Linked DNA regions of Homo sapiens: regions 2, 3, 4, 5, 6 and 7 are each linked to region 1. The links are contacts of gene promoters, found by promoter capture Hi-C in blood cells and fetal thymus (Javierre and others, 2016). All regions are on one chromosome and are shown on one strand. Each heading gives the region's core, a stretch centred on a gene start or on the middle of the fragment in contact. The rest is flanking DNA. Distances are from core to core; before and after follow the strand shown. Region 1 holds the start of QRICH2 (glutamine rich 2). Region 2 holds the start of TRIM47 (tripartite motif containing 47). Region 3 holds the start of TRIM65 (tripartite motif containing 65). Region 4 overlaps FBF1 (Fas binding factor 1). Region 5 overlaps ACOX1 (acyl-CoA oxidase 1). Region 6 holds the start of ST6GALNAC1 (ST6 N-acetylgalactosaminide alpha-2,6-sialyltransferase 1). Region 7 has its middle 7.5 kb from the start of EVPL.

Evidence for each region. Contacts are between HindIII fragments. The CHiCAGO score rates a contact against its expected background, and 5 or more counts as called.
Region 2: the fragment with the promoter of TRIM47 here is called in contact with the fragment with the promoter of QRICH2 in region 1 in 9 of 17 cell types (non-activated CD4 T cells, activated CD4 T cells, total CD4 T cells and 6 more); the score reaches 9.9 in non-activated CD4 T cells.
Region 3: the fragment with the promoter of TRIM65 here is called in contact with the fragment with the promoter of QRICH2 in region 1 in 1 of 17 cell types (naive CD8 T cells); the score reaches 5.1 in naive CD8 T cells.
Region 4: a fragment that was not itself captured here is called in contact with the fragment with the promoter of QRICH2 in region 1 in 5 of 17 cell types (M1 macrophages, activated CD4 T cells, non-activated CD4 T cells and 2 more); the score reaches 6.8 in M1 macrophages.
Region 5: a contact is called between a fragment that was not itself captured here and the fragment with the promoter of QRICH2 in region 1, in 4 of 17 cell types (M1 macrophages, M0 macrophages, non-activated CD4 T cells and 1 more). The highest score is 7.0, in M1 macrophages.
Region 6: the fragment with the promoter of ST6GALNAC1 here is called in contact with the fragment with the promoter of QRICH2 in region 1 in 4 of 17 cell types (naive B cells, total B cells, megakaryocytes and 1 more); the score reaches 8.4 in naive B cells.
Region 7: a fragment that was not itself captured here is called in contact with the fragment with the promoter of QRICH2 in region 1 in 9 of 17 cell types (activated CD4 T cells, M2 macrophages, naive CD4 T cells and 6 more); the score reaches 10.8 in activated CD4 T cells.

The regions. Positions count from the first base shown.
Region 1 is chr17:76,306,556-76,310,830 of GRCh38, reverse strand. It overlaps QRICH2 (glutamine rich 2), which reads left to right and starts at 2,555. Exons shown (of 19, transcript NM_001388453.1): 1 at 2,555-3,366. The coding sequence starts at 2,833. It overlaps PRPSAP1 (phosphoribosyl pyrophosphate synthetase associated protein 1), which reads left to right. Exons shown (of 10, transcript NM_002766.3): 10 at 1-1,353. The HindIII fragment of the contact is 8,448 bases long and covers 1-4,275 here.
Region 2 is chr17:75,877,331-75,881,605 of GRCh38, reverse strand. It overlaps TRIM47 (tripartite motif containing 47), which reads left to right and starts at 3,025. Exons shown (of 6, transcript NM_033452.3): 1 at 3,025-3,732. The coding sequence starts at 3,058. It also overlaps a transcript of TRIM65 not described here. RefSeq lists silencers at 2,841-3,190, 3,321-3,700, 3,711-3,890 and enhancers at 2,735-3,650, 3,651-4,275. The HindIII fragment of the contact is 18,500 bases long and covers 1-4,275 here.
Region 3 is chr17:75,894,495-75,898,769 of GRCh38, reverse strand. TRIM65 (tripartite motif containing 65) reads left to right here and starts at 1,819. Exons shown (of 6, transcript NM_173547.4): 1 at 1,819-2,246. The coding sequence starts at 1,833. It overlaps MRPL38 (mitochondrial ribosomal protein L38), which reads left to right. Exons shown (of 9, transcript NM_032478.4): 9 at 1-126. RefSeq lists enhancers at 685-1,392, 1,393-2,102 and silencers at 1,470-1,949, 1,980-2,549. The HindIII fragment of the contact is 5,525 bases long and covers 1-4,275 here.
Region 4 is chr17:75,914,273-75,918,547 of GRCh38, reverse strand. FBF1 (Fas binding factor 1) reads left to right here. Exons shown (of 30, transcript NM_001319193.2): 21 at 279-386; 22 at 478-617; 23 at 698-816; 24 at 3,409-3,531; 25 at 3,616-3,801; 26 at 4,250-4,275. Among named protein-coding and RNA genes, the nearest start is that of MRPL38, 12 kb to the right of the region's middle. RefSeq lists an enhancer at 3,326-3,620. The HindIII fragment of the contact is 9,083 bases long and covers 1-4,275 here.
Region 5 is chr17:75,944,364-75,948,638 of GRCh38, reverse strand. It overlaps ACOX1 (acyl-CoA oxidase 1), which reads left to right. Exons shown (of 14, transcript NM_004035.7): 13 at 182-388; 14 at 1,844-4,275. The coding sequence ends at 1,891. Among named protein-coding and RNA genes, the nearest start is that of FBF1, 5.5 kb to the right of the region's middle. The HindIII fragment of the contact is 183 bases long and covers 2,118-2,300 here.
Region 6 is chr17:76,641,735-76,646,009 of GRCh38, reverse strand. ST6GALNAC1 (ST6 N-acetylgalactosaminide alpha-2,6-sialyltransferase 1) reads left to right here and starts at 2,253. Exons shown (of 9, transcript NM_018414.5): 1 at 2,253-2,502. The coding sequence starts at 2,372. The HindIII fragment of the contact is 3,284 bases long and covers 2,082-4,275 here.
Region 7 is chr17:76,032,673-76,036,947 of GRCh38, reverse strand. No RefSeq gene overlaps it. Among named protein-coding and RNA genes, the nearest start is that of EVPL, 7.5 kb to the right of the region's middle. RefSeq lists a silencer at 1-240 and an enhancer at 2,346-2,953. The HindIII fragment of the contact is 7,176 bases long and covers 1-4,275 here.

The DNA of each region.
Region 1 (4,275 bases), core at 1,306-3,805:
GTGTTGAAGCTAAATCCTTGTTGAATACTGTATTTTAAATCTTTAAAAAAAAAAAAAAAAAGTCTAGGTGTGGTGGCTCACACCTATAATCTGAGTACTTTGGGAGGCTGAGGCAAGGAGGATTGCTTGAGCCCAGGAGTTTCAGACCAGCCTGGGAAACATGGCGAAACCCCCATGTCTACAAAAAATACAAAAATTAGCCAGGCATTGGTAGCATGTGCCTGTAGTTCCAGCTACCTTGGGAGGCTGAGGTGGGAGGATTGCCTGAGCCAAGGAGGTTGAAGCTGCAGTGAACTATGATTGTACCACTGCCATCCATCCTGGGTGACAGAGCAACACCCTGTCTCAAAAAAAAAAAACAGGCCAGGGATCGTGTCTTATGCCTGTAATCCCTGCACTTTGGGAGGCCGAGGCAGGTAGATCACCTGAGGTCAGGAGTTTGAGACCAGCCTGGCCAACATGGCAAAACCCCGTCTCTACTAAAAATACAAAAATTAGCCTAGCTAAGTTAAAAGCATAAAAAGACTACAAAGAGGCCAGGCATCATGGCTCACGCCTGTAATCCCAGCACTTTGGGAGGCCGAGGTGGGCAGATCACTTGAGGTCAGGAGTTTGAGACCAGCCTGGCCAATATGGTGAAACCCTGTCCCTACTAAAAATACAAAAATTAGCCGGGTGTTGGGGGAGGGGGTGCACGCCTGTAATCCCAGCTACTCGGGAGGCTGAGGCAGGAGAATTAATTGGTTGAACCCAAGAGGCAGAGATTGCAGTGAGCTGAGATTGTGCCACTGCACTCCAGCCCAAGTGACAGAGCAAGATTCCATCTCAAAAAAAAAAAAAGACTGCAAAGAACTAGTTATTTTGATAACCCCTTAAAGGCCTACTGTGTCCCAAGTTATTGGAATATAATGATGATCGAAAATCCTTCAATTAAATAAACAGTACCTCTCAGGCTGAAGTGAAAAATCTGAACTTGAACAGTAGTTAAAATAGTACAGTTATTCCTTACAATCCATGGGTGATTGGTTCCAGGACTCAACCTCCTGCCCATGGATGTGCAAGTCCCTGATAGAAAATGGTGTAGTATCTGCATATAAGCTATGCACATCCTGGATGACTTGTAATACCTACTGCAATATCCTGTGTAGATGGTGGTCATGCTGTATTATTTAGAGAATCATGACAGGAATCTGTACGTGTTCAGTCGTGGTTGGTTAAATCTGCAGATGCAGAGCTCACGGAGGAGGCTGGCCATGCATGGCACACATTCATAGGTTCTCTTTAAGTAGCCTTGCTGTGCTTCTGTTAGGAAGTTTTATTTATACGTTTTTGGGAAGAATCTTGTATGGGGAAGTCATGTCTCAATTGTTAACACCAGATTTGTCTCGTGCTGTTTAATCCTGCTTTGTAATGAGCTCAAGCACAGGCGCTTGACCAGGTGAGTGGTTTCTTTTCTTTTCTTTTTTTTTTTTTTTGAGACAGAGTCTTGCACTGTCGCCCAGGCTGGGGTGCAGTGGTGCGATCTTGGCTCACTGCAACCTCTGCCTCCCGGGTTGACGCGATTCTCCTGCCTCAGCCTCCCGAGTAGCTGGGATTACAGATGCGCGGTACCATGCCCGGCTAATTTTTTGTATTTTTAGCAGAGGGGTTTCACTATGTTGGCTAGGCTGGCCTTGAACCCCTTACCTCAGGTGATCCACCCGCCTCGGCCTCCCAAAGTGCTGGGATTACAGGTGTGAGCCACCAAGCCTGGCCGTTTTTTTGAGATCAATTAATTTATGGCAGGCTGGGCGCGGTGGCTTACACCTGTAATCCCAGCACTTTGGGAGGCCGAGGTGGGTCGATCACTTGAGGTCGGGAGTTCAAGACCAGCCTGGCCAACATAGTGAAACCCCGTCTCTGCTAAAAATACAAAAAATTAGCCGGGCATGGTACCACGCATCTGTAATCCCAGCTACTCGGGAGGCTGAGGCAGGAGAATCATGTCAACCCGGGAGGCAGAGGTTGCAGTGAGCCGAGATCGTGCCATTGCACTACAGCCTGGGCGACAGAGCAAGACTCCCTCTCAAAAGTAAAAAAAAAATTATGGCAGCACAGAAAAGGGACAATTAGCCACCAGTTAGTCATCTAGTGGCTAATTGGAACTGCCTGAATAGTGAGTGGGTTGTCTTTTCCAAGTTGCTTCACCTTTGATTGAACAAAATATGTGGACTGTCTGAGGGGACCAGGGCCCCAGGACTGCATCCCTTAGACATGGGGCCATAGACATGGGGCCACCACTCTGGAATGGACGCAGCTGATGACACAAAGCATGGTTGCCAGGAAACCCTCAAGTCTTTCCTTATGTGGCCCCGCCAAGAGTGAGTGAATCCTGGCCTTTCTAGGTTAAGGGGATGGATGGAGTCTAGCTGGATCTTAGGAGGCCTCCTCAGCCCGTTGCCAAGGCTCCCCTTGTGATCCTTGTGGTGGCCTTTACTTCCCCCCGCCCCCGTGGCTCGCAGGGAGGCGTGTTGTTACGTGGAATCTTCAGGGCACGCGGGGGCCCCCACGTTTCAAACGTCCGCCGGCGCGGGGACTGGGAGTCCAGGGCTCCAGCTCGGGGACCCGAGGCCAGCGACAGACAGCGGAGGGGTGGCCATCGCGGACCCCGCCGGGGAGCGGAGGCGCAGATTCCCTGGAGGCAGGAGCTCTGTCCAGTGACTCGGCCGGACCCGGGGCAGGGGCGCCCCGAGGACCTCGCAGGGCCCCCGAAAGGCCCCAAGGCGCGGCGTGCAGTGAGCGGGAAGTGGTTGGCCGGCGCCCCGCGGCGGCGCACAGCTCCTGACAGCCACGATGCCGCCCGCGACCACGGTCTCCCTCCGGGAGCTGGCGGACCTCTCCATCGGCACGCCAGAGGTGGGCGCCGTCAACTTCACGGCCCTGCACACGCTCATCGTGGCCATGCTCAAGAACCTCGACCTCCAAAATACCCGGATCGACTTCCAGCCCTCGTCGCCCGAGCCCAGCCGCTCGCTGCAGTCCGTCCGGAGCTCGTTCAGCATCCCGCACCTGCCCGCGCCCAAGGAGGTGCCCAAGGGGGCGCCCCGGGAGAAGCGCAGGGGCGTGGGCCAGGCGCCTTCGTCAGCGCTGGAGAGCCAAGTGAAGGACCTGGGCGGCCAGGTGGAGGACCTGAGCAAGCAGCTCAAGCGTGTGGACGGCCAGGTGCAGGGCATCGCCACGCACGTGCAGCACTTCTCCCAGGCCAGCGGGCTTGACCTGGCCGCGCTAGAGTGGCCGGAGGAGCAGGAGGTGGGCGTGCGGGCGTTCGATAGGGTGCGGACTGGGAGTATCATGAAGGACGCCGCCGAGGAGCTCAGCTTTGCCAGGGTGAGCACGCACACGGAGGCACGCGCAGGCCGTCTGCCTCCTCCAGGCCGCCCTCCAGGCCTAGCCGAGTCCCCACCACCCTGGAGGGGTGAGCGGTGGTGGGGACGGAGGGGATGGGGACCGAGGAGGTGCCAGACCTCAGTGCGACTGGCTAAATAGAGTGGCCCATGCTCTACCTTGCAGTCCACGGGGCTGCAAGACGTGAAAATCCTAAAAGAACGCCACCAAAAGGCCTAGGGCCTCCCCGAGCTGGAGGGGCCTGGGGACCCCACCTCCTAAGTGTAGTGGCCCCATCCCACCCCCTCCTTCCTAGCCCCTGTTTACGGGAGAGGTTCGCCCACCACTTATCAGACATCCAAGGACCCAGAGCTGGCTCAGAGTGGGGCCGGCAACTTCTCAGAAGATTCTTAGAGTGAATTCCCTTTTTAAAATGAATAAGGACATGAAGAGATACGTGTTGAGGACAAAGGCTCCCAGAGAAGGGGAGTCAGGATGGAGAGTTGGACCTCAGCTTCCTATGGCCATGACACAAGCCACAGCAGGCAGGGGACCGTTTCACTTGGACTTTTTTTTTTTTTGAGAAGGAGTCTCACTCTATCACCCAGGCTGAAATGCAGTGGTGCAGTCTCGGCTCACTGCAACTTCCGCCTCCCAGACTCAAGCGATTCTCCTGCCTCAGCCTCCCGAGTAGCTGGGATTATAGGCGCGCGCCACCCCGCCTGGCTAATATTTGTGTTTTTAGTAGAGAAGGAGTTTCACCATGTTGGCGGGGCTGGTCTCAAACTCCTGACCTCAAGTGATCTGCCCGCCTCGGCCTCCCAAAGTGCTGGGCATTACAGGCGTGAGCCACTGAGCCCTGCCTTCAACTGGACTTTTGTTTTCTTGGAGGGACAAATGCATGTAATCATT
Region 2 (4,275 bases), core at 1,776-4,275, 430 kb after region 1:
GTGGGGTCTTCAGGTGGGCGGAGCCTCATTCATGGCATGAGTGCCCTTGTCCAAGGGGCCCCAAAGGCTCTCTGGCTGTCTCTTGGCCATGTGAGGACACAGTGGGAAGGCAGCCATCTACAACCCAGGAAGCAGCTCTCACTGGAACCCTGACTGTGCTGTCACCGTGATCGCAGACTTCCAGCCTCCAGAACTGTGAGGAGTGTCTGTTGTGTATAAGCCACCCAGTCTCTGGTGTTCTGGGATAGCAGCCCAGACACACTAAGACAGGGGTTCCTGAGTGCCTGGAGAGCCAGCTCCCTCCCCAAGAGGCTGGGTCCCTCCTTCTTTCTTTCTTCTTTTCTTTTCTTTTTTTTTTTTTTTTTTTTTTGAGATGGAGTCTCGCTGTGTCACCGAGGCTGGAGAGTACAGTGGCACAACCTCTGCCTCCTTGGTTCAAGCGATTCTCCTGCCTCAGACTCCCGAGTAGCTGGGAATACAAGTGTGTGCACCACCACGCCCGGCTAATTTTTTTGTATTTTTAGTAGAGATGGGGTTTCGCCATGTTAACCAGGCTGGTCTGGAACTCGTGACCTCAAGTGATCCGCCCGCCTCAGCCTCCCAAAGTCCTGGGATTCCAGGCGTGAGCCACCACACCCGGCACATTTGTGCTCTTTTGCTTGTGTTTTCTCCTCTTTAGCTCTGAACTCATGAAGTGCCTTCTGAACATTTCTAGTCTGGTCTCAGGGGACCTGAGGGTATTTTCCCACCCCCCAAGCCTAGAGAGCTGGGGAAACAGAGGCAGGAATGCAGACCCGGTGGGAGAGGTGGACAAGGGTTTGGGTGTGGGACAAGCAGCAGTGTGTGCTGAGGTTTAGGGAAGGGCCAGGGTCCTGGAACACAGAGAGGGCCAGGAACACCGGGGGACATGCATGACCTCTAGCACATTTGGGCCTGGGCCTCTCTCCAACATTTCCTTACTTATGCACTGTTATAGGTTGAATCCTGTTCCCTGAAAAAGACGTATTCGGATCCTAACCCCCAGGACCTGTGGCTGTGACCTTATTTGGAAATAGAGTATTTTCAGATGTGACTGAGTTAAGATGAGGGCATACTGGAGTAGAGCGTGCCCTAATCCAACAACTGGTGTCCTGATAAGAGGAAATGGGCACCGGGCACAGTGGCTCACGCCTGTAATCCTAGCACTTTGGGAGGCTGAGGCAGGCAGATTACTCGAGCCCAGCAGTTTGAGTGGGCAACAGAGCAAGACTCCCTAAAAAAAAAAAAAAAAAGGACATTTGAACACAGACACAGAGAAAAGGCAAATGACAACAGAGACTGATATTAGAGCGCATCTTACAGCTACAAGCCAAGGAACGCCAAGAATTGCCAGCCAGTACCAGAAGCTGGGACAGACGCCCAGGACAGAGTCTCCCTCAGATCCTGCAGAAGGAAGCCACGCTGCAGCACCTTACTGAAACACAGCATTTCTTTCTATTCCAAATGGAGAGAATACACCAGAGTGGTATGAGCAGTTACCTGTGACTTTGTCACTAACCAAAATTACAGATATCTCTGGGTGCGGTGGCTCATGTCTGTAATCCCAGCACTTTGGGAGGCCGAGGCGGGTGGATCACCTGAAGTCAGCAGTTCGAGACCAGCTTGGCCAACATGGTGAAACCCCGTCTCTACTAAAAATACAAAAATTAGCCAAATGTGGTGGCGGGCGCCTGTAATCCCAGCTACTCAAGAGTCCGAGGAGGGAGAATCGCTTGAACCCAGGAGACAGAGGTTGCAGTGAGCTGAGATTGCGCCACTGCACTCCAGCCTGGGCGACAAGAGCGAAACTCCATCTAAAAAAATAAAAATAAAAAAACATTATTTGGAATTTTCAATGCGAAATATGTCTGTTCTCCCCAGCTTGTTAATTTATTATTTATTTATATCGGCATGGACTCATAGATGTTTATTTTACACTTTGGGTTATAATCAGTGCTACTTTACTTATTTTGTTGTCATTCTGGTGTAGTGTTTTAACTTAACATTATTGAGATATAACTCATACAATAAAACGCACCACTTTAAGTGCATAATTAGATGAGCTTTAAATACTTCCAGTTGGGGAACCCCCAACCCCACCACAGGTGTCCCCAGTGTCCAGGGGCCAGAACTACATTCCTCAGACAAGGGACTTAGGGAATGACGTCAACTTCCCATTTCAGGTCTAGAAAAGTCCAAGTTCCCTACTTGGGGTAAAGAGTCGCTAAAGGAGCTGGGCGCTGTGGCTCACGCCTGTAATCCCAGCACTTTGGGAGGCCGAGGCAGGTGGATCACCTGAGGTCACGAGTTCAAGACCAGCCTGGACAAGGTGAAACTCCGTCTCTACAAAAAAATACAAAAATTTGCCTGGTGTGGTGGCAAGCGCCTATAATTCCAGCTACTTGGGAGGCTAAGGCAGGAGAATCACTTGAATCCGGGAGGCGGAGGTTGCAGTGAGCCGAGATAGCGCCCCTGCACTCCAGCCTGGGCGACAAGAGAGGAACTCTGTCTCAAAAAAAAAAAAAAAAAGAGTCGCTAAGGGGCAAAAACATATGTACATCAGCAGTTATTTTTCTCTGCAGTCAGCAGCTCAGGAACTTTGCTAAGGGTGCCAGGGAGGGGTCGAGCGCAAAGGTGCAGGCATGACACAGCTAGACGCGCCCAGCCCCTGCGGAGCGCTGGCCTGGCCCAGAAGGACCAGAGGGATGGAGGCTGAGTCCTTCCCATTCCTTCCACTGTACCTCTCGCGTTCTCCGCCCGCGCTCACTCAGTTTCACACCCTTTCAGCAGCGCCCTTCCTTAGGACCACGCGGACTCCCCTGGGGGTCGCGCGGGCTCGGAGGCCTCCCTGCGTTGTCTGGGCGGGGACTGGGAGTCCGCGGGCCCGCAGGCGGGCGGTGCTGCGGGGCGGGCCGAGCTGGGGGCGGGCGGGGGCCGGAGCCCTGGCCTAGGTCCCAGGGGGAGGTGCCGCGGCGCGAACGGCCCGGGTCCCTCCCAGGCCGGAGCACAATCGGCGGCGCCCTGGGCGGCCGCGGAGTCATGGACGGCAGTGGACCCTTCAGCTGCCCCATCTGCCTAGAGCCACTCCGGGAGCCGGTGACGCTGCCCTGCGGCCACAACTTCTGTCTCGCCTGCCTGGGCGCGCTCTGGCCGCATCGTGGCGCGAGTGGAGCCGGCGGACCCGGAGGCGCGGCCCGCTGCCCGCTGTGCCAGGAGCCCTTCCCCGACGGCCTTCAGCTCCGCAAGAACCACACGCTGTCCGAGCTGCTGCAGCTCCGCCAGGGCTCGGGCCCCGGGTCCGGCCCCGGCCCGGCCCCTGCCCTGGCCCCGGAGCCCTCGGCACCCAGCGCGCTGCCCAGTGTCCCGGAGCCGTCGGCCCCCTGCGCTCCCGAGCCGTGGCCCGCGGGCGAAGAGCCAGTGCGCTGCGACGCGTGCCCCGAGGGCGCGGCCCTGCCCGCCGCGCTGTCCTGCCTCTCCTGCCTCGCCTCCTTTTGCCCCGCGCACCTGGGCCCGCACGAGCGCAGCCCCGCCCTCCGCGGACACCGCCTGGTGCCGCCGCTGCGCCGGCTAGAGGAGAGCCTGTGCCCGCGCCACCTACGGCCGCTCGAGCGCTACTGCCGCGCGGAGCGCGTGTGTCTGTGCGAGGCCTGCGCCGCACAGGAGCACCGCGGCCACGAGCTGGTGCCGCTGGAGCAGGAGCGCGCGCTTCAGGAGGTGGGCTCCGGGGGCACACTCGGGTGAGCCGGGGCTGGTGACCGACCGCGCGCGAGCGGGCCGAGGACCTTGGACCCCCCAGTCTTCCCGGGTTGGGTCTTAATCTCCTCCTCTAACCTGAGGATCTTTGCGGTCCCTTCCAGCCTTGACAAGGTCATCTGCTGGCGGTGATGGAGATGGGAAGGGAGGAAGGAGGGACGTGAGAACAGGACAAGGACGCGAAGAGCGGGCAGGGGACCTGAAGCCGGGCCGGGGTCTATGGGGGTGTAGGCGGGAGGGAGCCGGGTTAGGCCCGCGGGGTTCCGGTAGCGTGGCTGCTGCTCCCGCCCGGAGGGTCACGCCGGTCTCAGCTCAGATTTGCCCTGGGCTGAGGCAGCAGCTTTCGATGGGTGTGGCAGGCGGCAGGAGGGCGGCAGAGGGCGACCGGGCACACAGATTCTCTGTCCAGCTGTTCCGGGGGCCAGTGGTGGGAGCATGTGAGCCGCGGCCTCTACCTCCCGCCCCCAGTTTCCTTTGGCCTCCAGCCCGGTCTTGGCGCCTCTG
Region 3 (4,275 bases), core at 570-3,069, 410 kb after region 1:
GGGGTCTGGGCCCTGCCTTAGGCAGCCCCCCTCTTTGGCCCCCTCCCGTCAGGCCCAGGGCTTGGAGTGAAAGTGACTCTCAGGTGGTGGGGTGGGGAATGTGAATAAACATGATTTCTTGCCGGGCTTGGTGGCTCACACCTGTAATTCCAACACTGGGAGGCTGAGAAGGGAGGGTCGCTTGAGCCCAGGAGTTCAAGACCAGCTGGCAATATAATGAGACCCTGCCTGTATTTTTTAAAAAAAGGGATTTCTGCCATAGCTGGCCTGGGTCGGTGCTCCAGGGCCAGAGGACCCCGATGGAGCTTCATGGGTGGGAAACGGGCTGCCTCCCACCCCACTAAGTGCGTCCTCACCTCCGTCTTCTGAGGGTGTCAGGGGCCCTGGGATCCGAAGCAAAAGCAGGCAGTGGGCCAAAAACAGGTGTGGCCCAGGGAAGGGAGACATCCCAATCCAGCAGGTTCCTGAAACCCAGCTCCCCGAAAAAGTGGAGCAGAGCAGCTGGGCTCAGGAAGGAGCATTTATTGAGCACTGGCTCTGTGCCTCAGGGGGGTCCCACCGGCCCCTGGAGAGAGAGTGCCTGCCCGAGCACTGACCCTCTGCACAGGCTCCAGCCCCCACCCCATGCTTGGGAGGAGAAGCCACATTAGGTAGGCAACAGCGTGTCTCAAGAGACCTGCTCAGGGTCAGAAAACCCATGGAGTCTTGCGGCTGGATGGTTAGGTGTTTTGTTTCTCCCTTACCAAAAGCAGAAGTCTGGCTAACTAGTAGGTGGAGGGTAGATCCGTGCACTTTGTCCAGAAAGAAACTTCGTCTATGGCCGCACAGAGGACGCAGTGCTTGCTGCAGCAGTGAGAGCTCGTGCCGCCTCAACATCAGCCCAGCTTGGTTAGAAAGGCCGTACTCTCCTGGGGTTCCCCCTGGCCTGATACACACTGTCAGGTAGGTGGGCGCTAGGCCCCAGACCCGCCTTGCCTGCTCAGCTTCAGGGGAAATGCTGGAGTGCCTGTAAATACTGAGGCTGCAGATCAGCTTGGACCCCAGGCAAGGAACTCTCCCCAGCGGAGGGCAGCAGGAAGAGGGGATGCTGATTGCAGATGAAAGCTGGTTTGTGTATTCATTCAGGGCCATTTGAAAAATACCAGTTAACTGGTCCCTGTCTCTTGGTGACCAGACATTTCCATCTCGCTGTTTACTTTAAAAGAACCAAAATTACGTGTAGCCCAGAGAAGGGAGACACCCCAGTCTGGCAAGTGTCCGAAACCCAGCTCCAGGAAAAAGTGCAGCAGTGCTCGGGTCTGCAGGGAGCCCGCCAGCCCGTTTCATCGCCAAGCCCCGGGGGATTGTTGGGGGTGGGGGTCTATGCTGTTAGGCGACTGGCAGATGAGTCCAGAAGAGGTTCCGCGCGGCCCGTGGTCAGAAGCCCGGAGTCCTGGCGGGGTTTTCGAGCCTCTGGTCTCCAGGACCTGGGCTGAAGGCCCAGGGGGGTGGGATGGACCCGCCAGGCTGGGACCCTAGAGAGCCGAACTCAGCTCTCAGCCGGGGTGGCGTGGACCCTAACGGAGGGAGGGGCGCAAGGCGGGAACGCGGAACCTTCGAGCGGGCCAGGCCGAGGTGGGCAGGGGTGGCCTAGGCCCCTGCGGCGGTCGCTCGTCGAGGGTGTCAGAGAAGGGCCTGCCGCCCCCCTCCGCCTTCCCGGGCGCGGATCTCGCCCCGCCCCGCCCGGATCTCGCCCCGCCCCGCGTTAGCCACGCCCAGGCGCCCTCAGCGCGCGAGGCCCGCGGTCCCTTTAAGACGCCCGGGGCCCGCCTGGCTCTCGCCGCCGCCGGGCCATGGCCGCGCAGCTGCTGGAGGAGAAGCTGACCTGCGCCATCTGCCTGGGGCTCTACCAGGACCCAGTGACGCTGCCCTGCGGCCACAACTTCTGCGGGGCCTGCATCCGGGACTGGTGGGACCGCTGCGGAAAGGCGTGCCCCGAGTGCCGGGAGCCCTTTCCCGACGGCGCCGAGCTGCGCCGCAACGTGGCCCTCAGCGGCGTGCTGGAGGTGGTGCGCGCCGGGCCCGCCCGGGATCCCGGCCCCGATCCCGGCCCCGGCCCCGACCCTGCCGCGCGCTGCCCCCGCCACGGGCGGCCGCTGGAGCTCTTCTGCCGGACCGAGGGCCGCTGTGTGTGCAGCGTGTGCACCGTGCGCGAGTGTCGCCTCCACGAGCGGGCGCTGCTGGATGCCGAGCGCCTCAAGCGCGAGGTGACGCATCCGCCGGGAGCGGGAGGGGTCCGGACCCGCCGCAGCCTGGCCACCGCCGGGTGACTCCTGCGGGCCGCGCCCTGCTCTCTCGGGCACCCGGCGGGGGCGGGGAGCCTCATCTGTAAGGGGCTTCTCCCAACCTGGGAGCTGATTATAAAAGTCGTGGGTCTGCCAGGCGCAGTGGCTCACGACTGTAATCCCAGCACTTTGGGAGGCCGAGGCGGGCGGATCACGAGGTCAGGAGATCGAGACCATCCTGGCTAACACGGTGAAACCCGGTCTCTACTAAAAATACAAAAAGTTAGCCGGGCGTGGTGGCGGGCGCCTGTAGTCCCATCTACTCGGGAGGCTGAGGCAGGAGAATGGCGTGAACCCGGGAAGTGGAGCTTGCAGTAAGCCGAGATCGTGCCACTGCACTCCAGTCTGGGCGACAGAGCGAGACTCCGTCTCAGAAAATAAACAAACAAAAAATCGTGGGTCTGTGCATCAGACTGGGATATGCAGCCCGGCCAGTGACACAGGGTGGGTCTCAGAAGCTGCTCGGTGCCCTCTGGATGAACAAAGCCTGGGCGTGAGGCAGCAGCTCCCTGCTCCGTGCCCAAGCGCTAGAGAACCGTCGTGTGTCTCCTGCGCTCCGAGAGCCTCCTTTCATTCGCTGTGCGGGGTTGTGGAGGGCGAGGGGGCTATGGGGGCTGTTGGTAAATGGATCAGACGAGCTCCCTGCCCTTAAGAGACTTAGAATCCACTTAAGAAGTCAGTGTTCCAGTAAGGCGTGAATGTATTATTACAAAATGCAGTGAGGAAAGCACATGGCATGTGATAGAGGGGTTGGGGTGACCCTGCTAAACGGGCCAGGAGGAGGAAGGGGAGGCCGCCTTCAGGCTGGCATGTGAGGATTGAGGAAGCGCAAGCCAGGAGAAAGACCTGGGGAAGAGCATTCTAGGCAGAGGAATCAGCCTGGTCCCGTCTCTGGGATGGGAAAGAACTGGGCACGCGGGGTCCCTAGTGGCAGATTTGTGCCACTGAGATCTGTGGGCCAGGCCCTGGGGGTCAGCAGGGGCAGGATCGGGCAGGGTCCTGGGGGAGTCTGGCTCTTACTGTAGGGTCATGGGGGCCATTATAGGCTTGGAAGCAGGTTGGCACATGATCAGATTTGGGCTTCATGGAGACTGATCACCTGGCTGGGGGCTGAAGGGGGCAGGATGTAAGACCCGAATCGGGTAGGAGTGCAGGGAGGCAAAGAACCAGCTGGGGATCAGGGAAGGGAGACCAAGATGGAGGAGGAGATGAGAAACGCTGAGGGGAAGTGGTACCTTGTGGAGGCGAAAGCAGGCCAGAGGGGACACGGGGGACAGCAGAGAGGGCGGCAAGGGAGACACCTGGGTTTCTGTCTTGAGCACGCAGGTGGCTGGGGTGCTATGTCCTGAGAGGCGTAGGTGGAGGGCAGAGTTTGGCCTTGGACATATAGAGGTCACAGTGGCCAGTGGGACAAACCAGGGGACGGGCCTGTGGCACCTGGGACCCTGGCCCCAGCCCTGCCGCGCGCTGACCCCGCCCCGGGCAGCTGCTGGAGCTCTTCTGCCAGACCAAGGGCTGTTGTGTTTGCAGCTTGTGCACCATGAGTGAGGGTCACCTCCTCAAGTGGGTGCTGCCGCCAGGAGCAGGAGGGGGCCGGACCCCCCGCAGCCTGGCCACCACCGGGTGCAGTGGCTCACGCCTGTAATCCCAGCACTTTGGGAGGCGGAGGCCGGTGGATCACGAGGTCAGGAGATTGAGACCATCCTGGCTAACATGGTGAAACCCTGTCTCTACTAAAAATACAAAAAATTAGCCAGGCCTGGTGGCGGGCGCCTGTAGTCCCAGCTCCTCTGGTGGCTGAGGCTGGAGAATGGCGTGAACCCGGGAGGCGGAGCTTGCTGTGAGCTCCAAAGCTCAGGAGCGGGGAGCTGGAAGTCGAGAGCTGGGAATCATTAGCGCTAGGAGGAAGAGAAGGTTCCAAGCTGGAGCTCCCAGGGAGATGGGGAAGGTC
Region 4 (4,275 bases), core at 1,641-4,140, 390 kb after region 1:
CCAGCCTGGGCGACAGAGTGAGAGACTCTGGGTGACAGAGCAAAACTCCATCTCCAAAAAAAGAAAAGCTGAATAATGGGAGGAATGCCCATCTTAGTGCGTGTAGCATTGAGGCACCATGACAGATAAGACAGAGGAGCTGGGGAAACTGAGGCAGTGCCCGGCGGAGGAGAGGCCTGGGAGCAAGGGCTGCACGGAAACACACCCTTCCACAAGGAGTTACCGCATCAGGGTGATCCAGCTCAGAGTGACCGCCTTCCCCTCCCGCCTCCCCTCAGGGCGTCCATCCTAGACATGCGCAGAGACCACGAGGAGCAGCTGCAGCGGCTAAAGCTGCTGAAGGACCGAGAGGTCGATGCGGCCACCAGTGCCACCTCCCACACGCGGTATGTGCGCTGCCCCAACCATGCCCGCCTGACGTTGGGGGCCGGAAGGTCCCCGAGACCGTCAGGAGGGGGTGACCCAGTCTTCTTCCAGGTCCCTGAATAGCATCATCCACCAGATGGAGAAGTTCTCCAGCAGCCTGCACGAGTTGTCCTCCCGCGTGGAGGCCTCGCACCTCACCACCTCCCAGGAGCGGGAGCTGGGGATCCGGCAGCGTGACGAGCAGCTGCGGGGTACGCCCTCCCCTCTCAGCCACCCCGGCTCCTGGTGGGAAGGGGGAGCAGCTGCTGAGCACCCTGTGGGTTGCCCCCAGCACTGCAGGAGCGGCTGGGCCAGCAGCAGCGGGACATGGAGGAGGAGCGGAGCCGGCAACAGGAGGTCATCGGGAAGATGGAGGCACGGCTGAATGAGCAGAGCCGGCTGCTGGAGCAGGTGAGGCCCGTCCTCCTGGCCCTCCTGCCCCTCCTGCCACGGGGCCTCTTCTCCAGGGCACCCGCAAGTGTAGCGGCACTCCCGTGACCTCACTTCCTCAGGAGGTCAAGGCCCCACCTGCCGCTTCCTGCCTCTACATCTCCCTGCCCTGGCCAGGCTCTCAGCACTGCCCACCTGAGCATGCAGGGGCCGCCTGGCCAGGCCCCCCACCACGCCCTGTCCGCTCCTCAGCACCGCAAGCCCCTCGGCCACCTTGGCTGCCCTCCGCAGTCTAGCCCCCGCAACCATCAGCTGCACTTCCCACTTCCTGACACTCGAATCTGTCACATTAGCTGAGGCCTGACATTGGGACAGATGCTCTTGCCCATTAAATGTCATCCTAGCCTCTTCAGCTCTCACAGAGACATTTGAATTCCCTAGATACCTTTCATATATAAGCACATGCTTTATTTAAATAATGATGACCTTAGCCAGGCACAGTGGCCTGTGCCTATAATCCCAGCTACTTGGGGGGCTGAGGCAGCAGGATCACTTAAGGCCCAGAATTTGAGACCAGCCTAGCGAGACCATAAATAAATTTTTTTATGCCAGGCAAGTTGGCTCATGCCTGTAATTCCAGCACTTCAGGAGTCCAAGGCTGGAGGATCACTTGAGGTCAGGAGTTCGAGACCAGCCTGGCCAACATGGTGAAACTAAAAATAAAGAAATAAGAAACTAGCCAGGCGTGGTGGCGCACGCCTGTAATCCCAGCTACTAGAGAGGCTGAGGTGGGAGAATCGCTTGAATCTAGGACACAGAGGCTGCAGTGAGTGGAGATCATAACATGGCACACCAGTCTGGTTAACAGAGCGAGACTCTGTCTCAAAAAAATAAATAATAAAAACATTTAAATTTTGTTTTAATTAACTGGGTGTGGTGGTGCACACCTGCAGTCCCTGCCTTTGCTCACATCCTTTTCCTTACCTGTGGAAATCTTTCTAGGCTGAATTCAATGGTAATGAATCTTTCGATGCTACCACCTCCACAAAGCCTTCCTTGTCCTCCCACCTATCTTTTTGTCCTCAGCTAGTAGTTATCATCTTCTAAGGTTTTACAAAGCACTGTTATTTTTTAGAGACAGGGTCTTGCTCTGTTGCCCAGGCTGGAGTGCAGTGGTGTGATCATAGCTCACTGCAGCCTGACCTCCTTGGCTTAAGCCATCCTCCTGCCTCAGCTTCCTGAGTAGCTGGGACTACAGGCGCAAACCACCACACCCAGCTAATTGTGTATTTTTTACTGAGATGTGGGTCTTGCCATGTTGCCCAGGCTGGTCTTGAACTCCTGGGCTCAAGCAATCTGCCCACTTAGGCCTCCCAACATTTTGAGAGTACAGGTGGGAGCCACCATGCCTGGCCAAAAAAAAAAATTTTTTTTAGAGATGGGGTCTCACTGTCACTCAGGCTGGAGTGCAGTGGCAAGATCTCAGCCCACTGCAGCTTGAACCTCCTGGGCTCAAGCAATCTTCCCACCTCAGCTGCCAAGTAGCTGGGATCACAGGTGCATGCCACTATACCCAGCTAATTTTTTGTATTTTTTGTAGAAACGGGGGTTTGCCATGTTGCCCAGGCTGATCTCAAACTCCTGAGCTCAGACAAGCTGCCCACTTTGGCCTCCCAAAGTGCAGGGATTACAGGCGTGAGCCACCATGCCCAGCCAAAAACTTTTTTTTTTTTTTTTTTTTTTTTGAGTCAGAGTCTCGCTCTGTCACCCAGGCTGTAGTGTAGTGGCGCAATCTCAGCTCACTGCAAACTTCGCCTCCTGGGTTCAAGGGATTCTCCTGCCTCAGCCTCCTGAGCTACTGGGATTACAGGCAACTGCCACCACGCCCAGCTAATTTTTGTATTTTTAGTAGAGATGGGTTTCACCACGTTGGCCAGGCTGGTCTTGAACTCCTGACCTCAGGTGATCCACCCGTCTCAGCCTCCCAAAGTGCTGGGATTATAGGGCTGAGCCACTGTGCCCGGCCCAAAAAAATGTTTTTAAAGAAGAAAATAAAAATATCCCACTAGTCAGAGATGTCCACTGCTGACCTGATATCTATCCTGTAGCCATGTCAACGTAGATAGAGATGCTTTTATGTTGTGAAGCATTTTGATTCGCCTCTTCATTTGGTAACTGTGTTAAGCATCTGCCTGGGGTCAGGCACAGTGAAGCTCTCGCCTTGTGCTGTGTGTGGCTGGGCCCACAGCACAGCATTAAGCCACCCTGTGCTTAGCCTGCTTGGCTGATGGGTGAGGACAGGCAGAGTGCGTAGCTGGCGATTCAGCGGCAGGGATGTTGCTGCTCTTTGGCCCTCCCAAGCTGCTAGCCTTGGTGCTGTTGGAGACCTGAGGGTTGGGAGGGCACCTGCTGGGTCCTTCTCTTGGGCAGAATCGTGCGGGCTGGGCCCTGGCAGTGCCTCCCAGGCACCCCTCATTTTGTGCCTCTTTGGGAAGGACGTGTCAGTGGCATAGTGTGGGAGACACTGGTGGGTTCATGCAGCTTCTCAGGGAGTGGCCAGGCGTGATCCTCAGGGCGGGAACCACGCTCTCAGTCCTGCCCTGGGCCCTACAGGAACGCTGGCGGGTGACTGCCGAGCAGTCCAAGGCGGAGTCCATGCAGCGCGCCCTAGAGGAGCAAAGGAAGGTCACGGCCCAGCAGATGGCCATGGAAAGGGCGGAGCTGGAACGGGCCAAGGTGAGTCAAGCCACCGCACTCAGCCCCTGCCCCTGCCATTATGCCCAGGGACACTCACCCCGTGCCTTCACCCCCACATCCCAGAGCGCCTTGCTGGAGGAGCAGAAGTCTGTCATGCTCAAGTGCGGGGAGGAGCGGCGGCGCCTGGCTGCCGAGTGGGCGGAGTTCTCCGCGCAGCAAAAGCTGAGTAAGGAGCGGGCCGAGCGCGAGGCCGAGCGGGCATTGCAGGTGGACACCCAGCGGGAGGGCACCCTCATCAGCCTGGCCAAGGTAGGGCCCAGAGCCTCCGGACAGTGGAGGGCCCAGGGTTGCCTGCGCCCCTCCATCTGGACACATCCGCTTCCAGTCTTAGGAAAGGAGAGTGTAGCACTAATGTCACAAGAGCATAGGGATTAAAACAGTAATCGCATCATCATGCTAACATCTTCCTCGTATTGTCCCAGGTGCATTATACACATTTTATTTGATCCTCATGTTCCCATGACTTTGGTCATTTAGAAATGAGGAAACCGAACTTCAGAGTTGAGCCTGCCACAGTCACGTGGCTTGTGAGGGCAGCACTCCGGCTTGGCCCCAGGCTTCTCTGGCTCTCCCTGGAAGCCCCTGGCTCCACCACCTCCTCCCAGGGGCAGGGTGGGCAGAGGGGACCCTAGAGTCCTGCACAGAGTGCAGCGCAATTCCTGGGAGGAGAATGCAGCAGGGCCTCCGCTGTCTCCAGGAGCAGGCTGAGCTGAAGATCAGGGC
Region 5 (4,275 bases), core at 960-3,459, 360 kb after region 1:
AGATTGCGGTGAGCCAAGATCACACCATTGTACTCCAGCCTGGGCAACAAGAGTGAAACTCAGTCTCAAAAAAAAAAAAAGAAAAAAATAATTGTCATCCGCTTTATAGCTGTATATGCATATAATTATGTCTATCTATATACATATATATGTTTTATTTACTTATTTTGGTCTCTTTTAGGGGAGCATCATGACAGAGCCTCAGATTACACAAGTAAACCAGCGTGTAAAGGAGTTACTCACTCTGATTCGCTCAGATGCTGTTGCTTTGGTTGATGCATTTGATTTTCAGGATGTGACACTTGGCTCTGTGCTTGGCCGCTATGATGGGAATGTGTATGAAAACTTGTTTGAGTGGGCTAAGAACTCCCCACTGAACAAAGCAGAGGTAAAAATCCAGTGTCTCTGCACCTTTTTAAAAGTCTTCACTTAAATATTGAAGCAGGAAAGGCCTCTCGAAGGGGATTTATCTGTGAAAGCTCTGAAAGTACCATGGCCACTTCTGACAGTCACTTTATTTGAGCAACAGGTTCAGAAGGGAACTGGGTTGTTCCCACAGTAACCAGGGTCTTAATCAATTTCAATTTTTGATAACGAATTGAACATTTAAAAATATATACAGGCCGGGTGCGTTGGCTCACACCTGTAATCCCAGCACTGTGGGAGGCCGAGTGGGCAGATCACCTGAGGTCAGGAGTTCGAGACTAGCCTGGCTAAAATGGCGAAACCCAATCTCTACTAAAAATACAAAAAAAGCAGCCAGGCAGTAATGGTGCACGGCTGTAGTCCCAGCTACTCGGGAATTCTCCTGCCTCAGCTTGAACCCAGGAGAACCCAGGAGGCGGAGGTTGCAGTGAGCCACGTTCGTGCCATTGCACTCCAGCCTGGGTGACAAGAGCAAAACTCTGTCTCAAAAAAAAAAAAAAAGTATACACACACACACACACACACAAATAGAATAAAATATACAAAAAGAGAATTCCGTAGTGCTCTTTGGTACACCCTTTGTCTAGCAGCAATGACTATCAACTCGTGGCTAGTTGTGTTTCATCTGAACCTTCATCCCCCTCCTCCTGGGGACTATTTTGAAATAAATCTAAGACATCAGGGCCAGGCTCAGTGATGCACACCTGGGAGGCCGAGGCAGGTGGATCACCTGAGGTCGGGAGTTTGAGACCAGCCTGACCAACATGGAGAAACCTTGTTTCTACTAAAAATACAAAATTAGCCAGGCGTGGTGGCGCATGCCTGTAATCCCAGCTACTTGGGAGGCTGAGACAGGAGAATTGCTTGAGCCTGGGAGGCGGAGGTTGCGGTGAGCCGAGACCATGCCATTGCACTCCAGCCTGGGCAACAAGAGCGAGGCTCCGTTTCAAAAAAAAAAAAAAAACTAAGACATCAGATAATTTTATCCATAAATAATTCAATGCATAGCTCTAAAAGATAAGGACTCTTCAGAAACAACCACAGGCTGGGCACAGTGGCTCACGCCTGTAATCCTAGCACTTTGGGAGGCTGAGGTGGGTGGATCACTTGAATTGAGGAGTTCTAGACCAGCCTGGCCAACATGGTAAACCCCCATCTCTACAAAAAAATACAAATAGCAGCCAGGTGTCATGGCACACACCTGTAGTTCTAGCAACTCGGGAGGCTAAGGTGGGAAGATCGCTGGAGTCTGGGAGGCAGAGGCTGTAGTGAGCCAAGATTGTGCCACTGCACTCCAGCCTGAGCAACAGAGCAGGACTCAGTCTCAAAAAAAAAACAAAAACAAAAACAAAAAACAGTATACTATTTAACATGGCAAACTCTTTATTAGTAGTTCTTCTCTCTCCTTTCCCCACAGGTCCACGAATCTTACAAGCACCTGAAGTCACTGCAGTCCAAGCTCTGAAGTGTCACAAGGACAAGTTTAATCTGCTTCAGAAAGCGCCTGTGTGCAACTCAAATTTTGTGGAATCTTTTTCGAATTCAAATAGCTATAGAGCAAATGATAAATTGACCCCTTTTTATAAATGGAGGGAAAAAATGAACAGATTTCAGAGATTAAATGAAAAAAAGCAGATGTTTTAAGTGCAATTAACACTGAAAGAGACCTGTTAAACCATTCAGAAAAAGCTTAAGAAATGCGATATGACTTCCTTTTGTAATGCTGCTGATCCCAGTAGACTATGACTTTTGATAATTAGCAGAATTTAACTACTGAGTAGTTGATTATTTTCACATTTTAATTGCTAATCACTGGCTATATAAGTGTTTTTAAGCAAAGGTATTTTTGAAGTGGTGTAGAACCCTTCCAAGCTTTCCTGCTCAGTGTTCTACCAGACTTACCCTGGGGCCTGGCTTAAAAGCAGGATTGAAGAAAAGGGACTGGGGGAAGGAAACTTATTGGAAAACTTGATGCGAATGAGTTTCTGCTTGGCACAGTCTCTGCCTGCTTGCTCTCCTTTGCTGATGGATTGCATTTATCAAACTATTCATGCTAGCATTTTTCCAACGAGGGAACTTATTCCGCACGGGCCTACTGTAGGACCATTGTCTCGTGTAATTAGGAATTTTCCATTTGAAGGATTGCTAAATTGTCACAGTAGTAGGAAGTATAGGGAAACCTCTCAGCTGTGGCACTGTTGTAGCTTTGGAGTGCAGAGTGTAACTCTGGGACAATCAGATTTCACATATTCTGTCATCTTGGCATAAGCCATTAAAAGCTTGGAGATTACTGTATTTGGCATTAAAAAAAAATGTCACTTAGGTCAGCACTCCCAGACGTAGCACAGAAAAACCCTTTGACACAAACCATGTGTTCTGATTTTTGGTTCAGAAAATATTGAAACTGTGAGTTGTTTTTTTTTTAACAACTGGGAAAAAACAAAAACAAAAAACTATAGTTAGAAAAATGGAAGTTCCATAGGTTCTATTTCTTACTCTATGTATGGCTTTGTTTTCAGTCTATTTCTAGGAGCTTTCTCTGAATCGCTAATTGTCCTTTCAGTTGAAATCTAATTTATACAATCATTCTATACTTAAAGGTTAAATACATCTTAATTAATTTTTTCTTAAAGTCAATGTAAGTCACTTTGTTTTGTTTTTTTTTAATCTACGCCATATGCCTCATGAAACCAGCTGTTCTAGAATCAGTCCTGAGAATATGGCTTAATTCCATGGAAACATAACTCCTATCTTGGGACCTGACATAATATCTATCTATCCTGGGGAACTGGTAATATGAGACTTATAGGTTACAGCAGAAATGCTACATGTTGACAAAAGCCTTAATCGTTCCACTGGGAGAACTAATTGATAATTGTGTTAAGATTGAAGATTAACCCTGTGTTAATCTCACTTGAGTCTATCCTGACAGTAGTTCAGATTCTGGAAAATGATAAACTGACCTGCTAGATGTAGAATTGTTTCAAAATTAGTGTTGAAATACCTTGTTCACAGATGAATATCTGGGCAGGATCTGAGGGTGTTTGGAATGACACCCCCCAATCCAGTTGCATAGATGGGATGTCTTTGCAGGTTTGAGGAGATCATCGACCTGCAGAGCCCCCTTTGACCCAGTACCTCACGTTTTATTTAAAATCTAAATCTGGGGCCAGGCGTGGTGGCTCACGCCTGTAATCCAAGCACTTTGGGAGGCCGAAGCGGGTGGATCACCTGAGGTCAGGAGTTTGAGACCATCCTGGCCAACATGGTGAAACCCCGTCTCTACTGAAAAAAATACAAAAATTAGCTGGGCATGGTGGTAGCACGCGCCTGTAGTCCCAGCTACTCGGGAGGCTGAGGCAGGATAATCGCTTGAACTTGGCGGGTAGAGGTTGCAGTGAGCCAAGATGGTGCCACTACACTGCAGCCTGGGTGGCTGAGCGAGACTCCGTCTCAAAAAAAAAATCTAAATCTGACATTTGATGCTATTTTTATTAATATTGGAATGTTCTGTCTTGAACTTTATTCAATATAATCAAGAATAAAGATAGAGTAAACGTCACTGATTTGTACTATTAAGAGAGAAAAAATATGCCACACAACTAAACATAGGTTTAAATTATGAAGAAATTTAGAATAGAGGTTTATTAGATTTAGGGAACACTAAGAACAAAAAAGGAAGGAGTGATACCTGCCTGAGTGGACAGCTGTAAATCAGCTGTAATTACTGCAGTTGTACCAATAGTTGTGAGTGGCTCCAGTCACTTTAGGAGTCCTTGGAAGTACTTGGTACACATTTGTTGGCTGTACCTTAAAGGAAGTGGCAAGTCCAGTTTGTTCTCTCTACCA
Region 6 (4,275 bases), core at 1,004-3,503, 340 kb before region 1:
CGCAGGAGGATCTTGTGAGCTCAGGAATTCAAGGCTTCAGTGAACTATGATTGCACCACTGCACTCCAGCCTGGATGACAGAAAGAGGCCTTGTCTCAAAAAGCAAAAACAAAATAATTGGAAAGTCAATTTCTCCTAAAACACACACTTCTCTGGATCCCACATTCTGCCCAGGCACATGCTACAGCAGCAGTGGGCTGGAACCTGAGAACCAGGAAACTAGGACTCTGGATTATCCTGCCACACCAGTTGGCCACAAGGTCTTCAAGTTCAACCTGCCTCTAATGTGGCGAGAGGGACAGATTGTCCACAGTAGCTCAGCTTGCACCCAGGAGCTCAGCTGGATCTCCATGCCCTGCGGAAGGCAGCGAGCACTGACAGCCAGTGCCTTCTTCAGAACACAGGGCACGATGAAAGAGATACTCTATTTAGTCACACTAGTACTGTGGGTAAGAACATGCCTTTTCACTGTGCACTTATTTGCATAGCGTTGCAAGCAGGCACCAGGATACAGGAATATAATTGTACATGTCAAGTGCATAAAGGAACTCAGGATAAGGGGCCAGTTAGGACAAAGAGTTATGACTTGATACAGATCAATTCAGAAAATGTTTATAGAGTTAACATATGAGCATCTGTAGGTTAGGCACGGTGAGAGAGAAAGAGAGAGGTTGAGTCAGTACTAACAGAGATGTTTCTCCTTGCCACCATGACTTGAAACAGTGCTGTGAGTTGCAGTGTACAGTAGGGGATAAAGGAAACCATCAGTCGTCTGTATTACCCTCAGCTGCTCAGACGTATGTTCCTGCCTTTTTCGTCCTCCTTGAGGAAGGTGGTTTAATCATTTATCGGTGCGTGCCATGGGTGAAGGCCAAGAGCCTTGTGTACAGAACTGAAAACTGTACGTTAGGAGAAATGCCCACCGCCAGGTGTGAACAGTGAGCCCAGGCTCCAAAACCTCTCCCACAGTTCAACACCCTGGACAATATTTTTATAAAATTACTAACTCACAGTACTTTATGGAGGGCTGCTTCTCTGAATTTTTAAAGTTTTCTACAAATGGTCTTGATGTTTTTCCTCTGAGGTGTACTTTTTTTTCCCAAGAATTATGTGGGTTTTGTTTTGCATTGCTTTGATCAAGGTAGAGTTAATGATTTCTCGTAGGTGCTACTAAGCAGTGGATACGAATGCAATCGGCCAGGCACGGTGGCTCACACCTGTAATCCTAGCACTTTGGGAGGCCGAGGCAGGTGGATCATGAGGTCAGAAGATCGAGACCATCCTGGCCAGCATGGTGAAACCCCGTCTCCACTAAAAATACAAAAATTAGCCGGGTGTGGTGTTGGGTGCCTGTAGTCCCAGCTACTCAGGAGGCTGAGGCAGGAGAATCACTTGAGCCCGGGAGGCGGAGGTTGCAGTGAGCCAAGATTGCGCCACTGCACTCCAGGCTGGCAACGAGTGAGAATGTCTCAAAAAAAAAAAAGAAAGAAAAATGCAATCATGGCTGGGCATGGTGGCCGATGCCTGTAATCCCAGCACTTTGGGAGGCTGAGGTGGGAGGATCACTTAAGTCCAGGAGTTTGAGACCAGCCTGGGCAACATACTGAGACCCATCTCTATTTCTTAAAAAAAGAATGCAATCTCTAGGTCAGTTGGATCTGGACCCCAAGCCAGTGGCTCACCATGTGCTCTTGGGCTGGCAGCTTGTTCTTGGAGGCCATTTCCTCCTCTGTCAAATGGAGGTGATGACAGTACCCAGCCCCTAGAGTGGCTGTGAGGGTTCCATGAGTGCCTGTGAAGACTCCCCACTGCCCAGCTCAGAGTGAGCCCTCATACGTGCTGGTCATTGTTGTAATGGTCATGATTTCAGAAGAGAAACAGAGAAGGTTGAGCTAAAGTGTTGAACATGTGTGTTGGGTGCCTACCACAAACAAAGCCCTGTGCATGGTGGCCTCAAGGTGTCTTCATGATAATCCCAAAAGGAAGATAACTGCTTTTTTCCATTTATATGGCGGCAGATGGGTTAAGTAACCTGACCAAGATGAGACTGCATATAATGTGGTTATATTTCTCATAAAGCTTGACTTTCAGATATTGGCTTCAAAGACAAAAAAGGAAGGTAAACATGTTTGAACACAAGGAGTTTCCCTTCCTTTAAGCCACGCCAGCTTATAAGCCTTCATACAGCAGTGAAGGCGGTTCCTCCCTTCCCAGGCAGAGACTGATAAACTCAGCACTTGCCGGAGTGGCTCATTGTTAAGACAAAGGGTGTGCACTTCCTGGCCAGGAAACCTGAGCGGTGAGACTCCCAGCTGCCTACATCAAGGCCCCAGGACATGCAGAACCTTCCTCTAGAACCCGACCCACCACCATGAGGTCCTGCCTGTGGAGATGCAGGCACCTGAGCCAAGGCGTCCAGTGGTCCTTGCTTCTGGCTGTCCTGGTCTTCTTTCTCTTCGCCTTGCCCTCTTTTATTAAGGAGCCTCAAACAAAGCCTTCCAGGTAAGATTCTTGTCCTTTCCACTCCTCATATTTCATTCATTTGAGGAAACAGAAAAATGATAGCCCAGGGAGGACTGGGGAAGTCTGAGCCACCTGTGTGTCCACATGGGAGTGTCAGGGGTCAGGAGTGTTCTCAAGAAGCACTGGGAAGAAAGACTAATGGGAAGACTTGCAGGGAACAGAAAGGGTGGCAGTGGGCAACCAAGACGCATGGGATGGACATGTCCAGATACTGTGGGACACGTACAGGAGTTTGAGAACTGATGGGTTAGGTCTGCAGAGTGCAGACAGAAGACATGACTGCTTTCCCCTCTGGGACTGTGAGTAATGGCAGCAGCACTGGGTTAGTTCTTACATGCCATTCTCTACGTCCTGAAGCGAAAGAGCCATGCTGTGTGTTCCACTTGTTTCAGACCCGGACTCACCCTAAGTTTGTCAGTTAAAATGGAGAGCCTCCCTCTTAGGGATGCAGTTTCAATTGTGGACGCCAAGTTAATCCTTCAAAAATACCTTCTAGACCATTTTTCTTAGAAAATACACACATCTCCAGCAGTGAGAGGCCCTCTTTTTTTTTTTTTTTTTTTTGAGACGGAGTCTCACTCTGCTGCCGGAGTGCTGGAGTGCAGTGGCATGATCTCAGCTCACTGCAACCTCCACCTCCCAGGTTCAAGCCTCAGCTTCCTGAGTAGCTGGGACTACAGGCGCATGCCACCAGGCCTGGCTAAGTTTTTGTATTTTTAGTAGAGACAGGTTTTCACCATGTTGGCCAGGCTGGTCTTGAACTCCCGACCTCAAGTGATCTACCCACCTCGGCCTCCCAAAGCGCTGGGATGACAGGCGTGAGCCACTGCGCCCAGCCAATAATTTCATTTCACTGTTCCTAAACGTTGAAAGTAATGCAGGTTCTCATAGAGTTAAAAAAAATACAGAAAGGTGAAGCAGGAAGTGAGGGTCTCCCTATTATACCTCCACCTCTATCCACTCTTCAAGGTGACCACTCTTGACACTTGAGGGTACACGGAATTCTATTATTATGTAGCTAACACTGCTATAGTATTTACTATGAGCTAGCCCCTATTCTAAGTGCTTGATATACGTTAACTCACTAATTCTCATTATTAGGACACTGAGATACACAGAACTGAAGTGATTCTCCCAAGGTCACCCTGCTAGTATGCGGCAGGGCCAAGATTCAAACCCAGGCATTTTGGTGCCATACCCTGTGCTCATTACCTTTATGCTATACAAGCCCGATAGATAGATGATAGATAGATAGATAGATAGATAGGCAGATAGAGAGAGAGAGAGATAGAGAGATAGGCAGATAGATGGACAGATAGATGGATAGATAGATGGAGATATAGATATCTATATATAGTATGGAGATATATATACAATATATACGCTATATATTGATATACTATATGTCAATATGTAGCATGAGAGATATGTATATATAGATATATTGTATATATAGATATAGATATATACACATATATATCATATAGATTTACATATATATGCACAAGAGAGCTTATATATATATCTCATATATACGTATATATACATATATATGTATCTCATGCTACATATTGTTCCACAGGTTGACCTTGTAAGTCACACTATATCATGGACATCTTTCCATGTCGGGACATACAGGTCCACTCCCTTCTTTCAACAGTTGCTTAGCATTCCACAGGGTAGGTACTGTTTACTTAACCAACCCCTATCAAGTTTCTCACATACCTTTGAGCACTTGCGTAAGTGATTTCC
Region 7 (4,275 bases), core at 1,292-3,791, 270 kb after region 1:
TCCTGCCAGGCGCTCTGAGCAGCATTGGCTGTTAACGGCCAGTGATGCTGTTTAGTATTAAAAGCAGGTGTTTACATAAGAAGACAGATCTGGCAGGGCCAAGGTCTCCGGCGAGCTTGCACATCCCTTCACATGGGATTCCTGGACATTAAGCAGGCTGTGTCGTGGGGGACAGAGCGCCAGATGCAGGACCCCCTCCTGTCCTCAGGCCCTGGGAAGTGGCTCTGCCTCTGATGGGAGCAGGTTTCAAGTCAGGCCCTCACTGCCCCTGGGCCCTGCAGGCTGTTCGCTGGGGGTTTTCACAAAAAGACACTTCGGAGGCCACACAGTCCTGCCTTCCCACGGGGCAGGACATGCAGATGAGGCCCCGGGGGCCGCGAATGGGTCTGTTCCAAGTGGGTGTTCCCGTGTTGTGCTGGCTCCAGTCCCTCCTCCAGGATGGACTCTGGTGCTGTCAGCAAGCTCTGACCCTGGAGGAGGCTTCTGTCTCCAACATCAAGAGAGGACGAAGAGAGCTCCATTCAGTCCCCTTATACTTTTATTTATTTATTTATTTAGAGACAGTCTCACTCTTGTCACCCAGGCTGGAGTGCAGTGGCACGATCTCAGCTCACTGCAGCCTCCGCCTCCCAGGTTCAAGCGATTCTCCTGCCTCAATCTCCCAAGTAGCTGGGACTACAGGTGCGTGCCATCATGCCCAGCTAATATTTGTATTTTTAGTAGAGGCGGAGTTTCACCGTGTTGGGCAGGCTGGTCTCGAACTCCTGGCCTCAAGTGATCCACCTGCCTCGACCTCCCAAAGTGCTGGGATTACAGGCATGAGTCACCACGCCTGGCCCGGTCTCATACTTTTAAAGCCTGCCCTAGGTCTGCTGTGGATGTGGTCGTGGTCGTGGTTTCTGTCCTTTTTTTTTTTTTTTTTTTTTTTTTTTGAGATGGAGTCTCGCTCTGTCGCCTAGGCTGGAGTGCAGTGGTGTAATCTCGGCTCACTCCACCTCCCAGGTTCAAGCAATTCTCCTGCCTCAGCCTCCCGAGTAGCTGGGATTACAGGTGGCCACCACCACGCCCAGCTAATTTTTGTATTTTTAGTAGAGATGGGGATTTCACCATTTTGGCCAGGTTGGTCTCAAACTCCTGACCTCATGATCTACCCGCCTCAGCCTCCCAAAGTGCTGGGATTACAGGCATGAGCCACCGCACCTGGGCTTTTCTTTTTTTGAGATGGAGTCTGACACTGTCGCCCGGGCTGGAGAGCAGTGGTGTGATCTTGGCTGACTGCAACCTCCGCCTCCCATTCAAGCGATTCTCCTGCCTCAGCCTTCCGAGTAGCTGGGATTACAGACATGCGCCACCACGCCTAGCTAATTTTTTGTATTTTTAGTAGAGATGGGGTTTTACTCTATTGGCCAGGTTGGTCTCAAATGCCTGACCTCGTGATCCACCCGCCTCAGCCTCCCAAGGTGCTGGGATTACAGGCGTCAGCCACCACGCCTGGCCTATGTGATCATAGTTTCTATTCTCTGTTCCAGGCAAGCCCCACCAGGCCTGCTGGGTGAGGGTCAGGAGCACGAGGTGGCTGAGGATGGCACTGGCCTTTGCTGCTGGGTCTCCTGGCCTGTTCCTCTCTTCCCGAATGTTGTTTGGATTTGCTGTCTCCTCTCTGGTTTTACATTAAATCAGTGAGAACTCTTGGATTCCCTCTTTGAAATGAAACGGTGCTGGGCTTGGTTCCGACCCCTTCCCCTGGTGGCAACCTGAGCCTGTCACCACAAGCACAAGGTGACAGCCTGTGATGACAGGCCATCCTCAACCCATAGCGGCTCTGGGCCAGAGCCAGGACTTTCCTCCCAAAAGCTGAGGCAGAGGCTTCACCCCCTCTAGGAGAGGAAGGCCAACGCCAGGGGCTTTGAGGGTGGGACTGTGCTCTGTTCACTGTCATCGCTGTGGCAGCGCTAATTTTTCACATACGAGGTGTCGTTAGTCACACACAAAAAAGCCAACTGATCACAGAATTCTAAACAGCACAATTCTGTCTGCAGCCTTGAAAAGCCTGGGACATTTAGAGGTCTAGGAAAATATCCAAAGATAGCAAAAATATGTGTTGGTTCTAATTTTTTGTTTGAAGACAGTTGTTGCTACAGAGGAGATGGAAAGCAGATTTAGCTGTAAAATTTATCGATGTTCCAAAGCAAAGAGAATAAATTGGAAATTGCCTGCATCCTGACAACACCAACTGGAAGAATCCAACCTGTTATTCTGTTAGATGTTAGAGACACTTGGGAGGAGGACCTGGGAGGGGCTGTGGCTGGGGGCACCGCCCAGGGCCAGCTGGGGTGGCAGGCTGTGCGGGTTGCACACAGTAGATAGGCCCTGGCCTCTGGGTCCACCCTCTGCTCTGAGCACCATCTGGCACAGAGTGAGGGGCTCTACAAGCATCCAGTAGAAGTATTATTATTATTATTATTCCAAGATGAGGTTTCACTCTTGTTGCCCACACTGGAGTGCAATGGCACGATCTCAGCTTACTGCAACCTCTGCCTCCCGGGTTCAAGTGATTCTCCTGCCTCAGCCTCCTGAGTAGCTGGGATTACAGGCATGTGCCACCATGCTCAGCTAATTTTTGTATTTTTAGTAGAGACGAGGTTTCACCAAGTTGGATAGGCTGGTCTCGAACTCCTGACCTCAGGTGATCCGCAGCTTCGGCCCCCCAAAGTGCTTCCCCAGGGATCTTCTGACCTAGCAATCCAGCTATGACGGGCAGGTACCTGGGCCAGTGAAAGCTGAGTAACGTTAGCTGCGGCTCATCTGTGGAATGGAGACAGACGTGGCTGTGCAAAGGCCTCACCAGGCAGTGCCTCCCATGCTGCCTAAGAAGAGGTGTGAGGCAGAGAGAGCAGGTGCCCAGGGTCCTCCGAGCTCCTGGATCCCTGCCCCACACTGACTAGTCCATTGCCTCTGAGCACACTCCAGCTCCTGTACAACAGGGGCGGCTGCGTCTCAAAGTTGCTGGGAGGAGACAGTGAGGAGGTTCCCCCAAAATGTTCTGAGCCCAGACCCCAAGACAGTGTGGGCTGCTGTACCCTGAGTCGATGGGTACACATAGCTGAGAGAGCCTTCCACTCAGCCAGCCTGCGTCCTTGTCTTCCCCTTCCCAGGAAGTCCTCCTAAGTCTATGCAATGCCATTCAGACAATAGTTTGGGTCTGACTAGCTGCTGTCTGTGCTGGGTGGTTTAACCTCCCCTTTCCAGCTTCCTGACAATAGAGACAAATCAGGCAGCTATGAGAACTTCTTGTTCCTTCGTTTTCATGTTTGTCTGTTTTATAAACCTTTTTCTCCCTCTGAACAGTGAACAGTGCCAGATGCCACCAGACCCCTGCTGCTGTGGTGCAGCCGGTGGGACATTTTCTCAAGCGGCAACGCAGGTCATTATCTTGGCATGGACAGTTAGCTGGCTGCCTCCGTCACATCCGCACTTCTCCAAAATAGGGCTGCAGGTCCCCGGACCTAGCTAGTAAGGACAGCTATTATCTTAAAGGTGGCAGAGAGGCCCAGAGCCCTTGGGCCTACCAGTTCCTGAGTAAGACTGGCTGGGCTGCAGACTTCTGGAATGCAGGGATGGCTCATGCACGAGATGGCTGCAGGGGCTGGGGAGTGGGCTGCACCAGCATCAGTCCTACAGCTGAACTGGGGCTGGTGCTGTGGGTCCCCTTTCTCCCAGGGAAAGGGGATGGTTCAGAGGGAGGGACAGATACCCTAAGGCAGCCTTGGTTTTGAGGATTCCAGGGGTTCCCTCTATGTTCTCTTTCTTGCCATTTAGTATGAGGAATCCTGCCTGCTCTCTTAACACACACAAGATTTGGTTGTTTTCTGTTTTTTGGAGTTTTGGTAGTTGCTTCCTCTAAACCTTCCCCGTAAAAGTCCCAAAAGGAATCACTAGCACCTGTTCCTCCCCACTCTTGTCTGGTTAGGCAAGCTGTACCACCTTTTGCTTCTCTCTAGGCTGACCTTGGCATTTCAGTTCTTTTTATCGGACTTGCCAGGCAGACTCACAGCCAAAAGAGCCTCCTCCTGGTGGCCCTGCAGATTCCTGGGCCACAGCCTCTACCCGCCAATCCTATACCTGTAGACAACGGAAGGAGGCTGGTCCCTTGAACCCCCAGTCCGCCAGACTGTGCTCCTCTAGGCCCAGCTGGAGGAGGGTGCCTCTGCTTTGCTCAGTGGGCGAAGGGAGTGAAGGGAAGAGGTCATTACTCAACTTCGGTCCAAGGGTCTG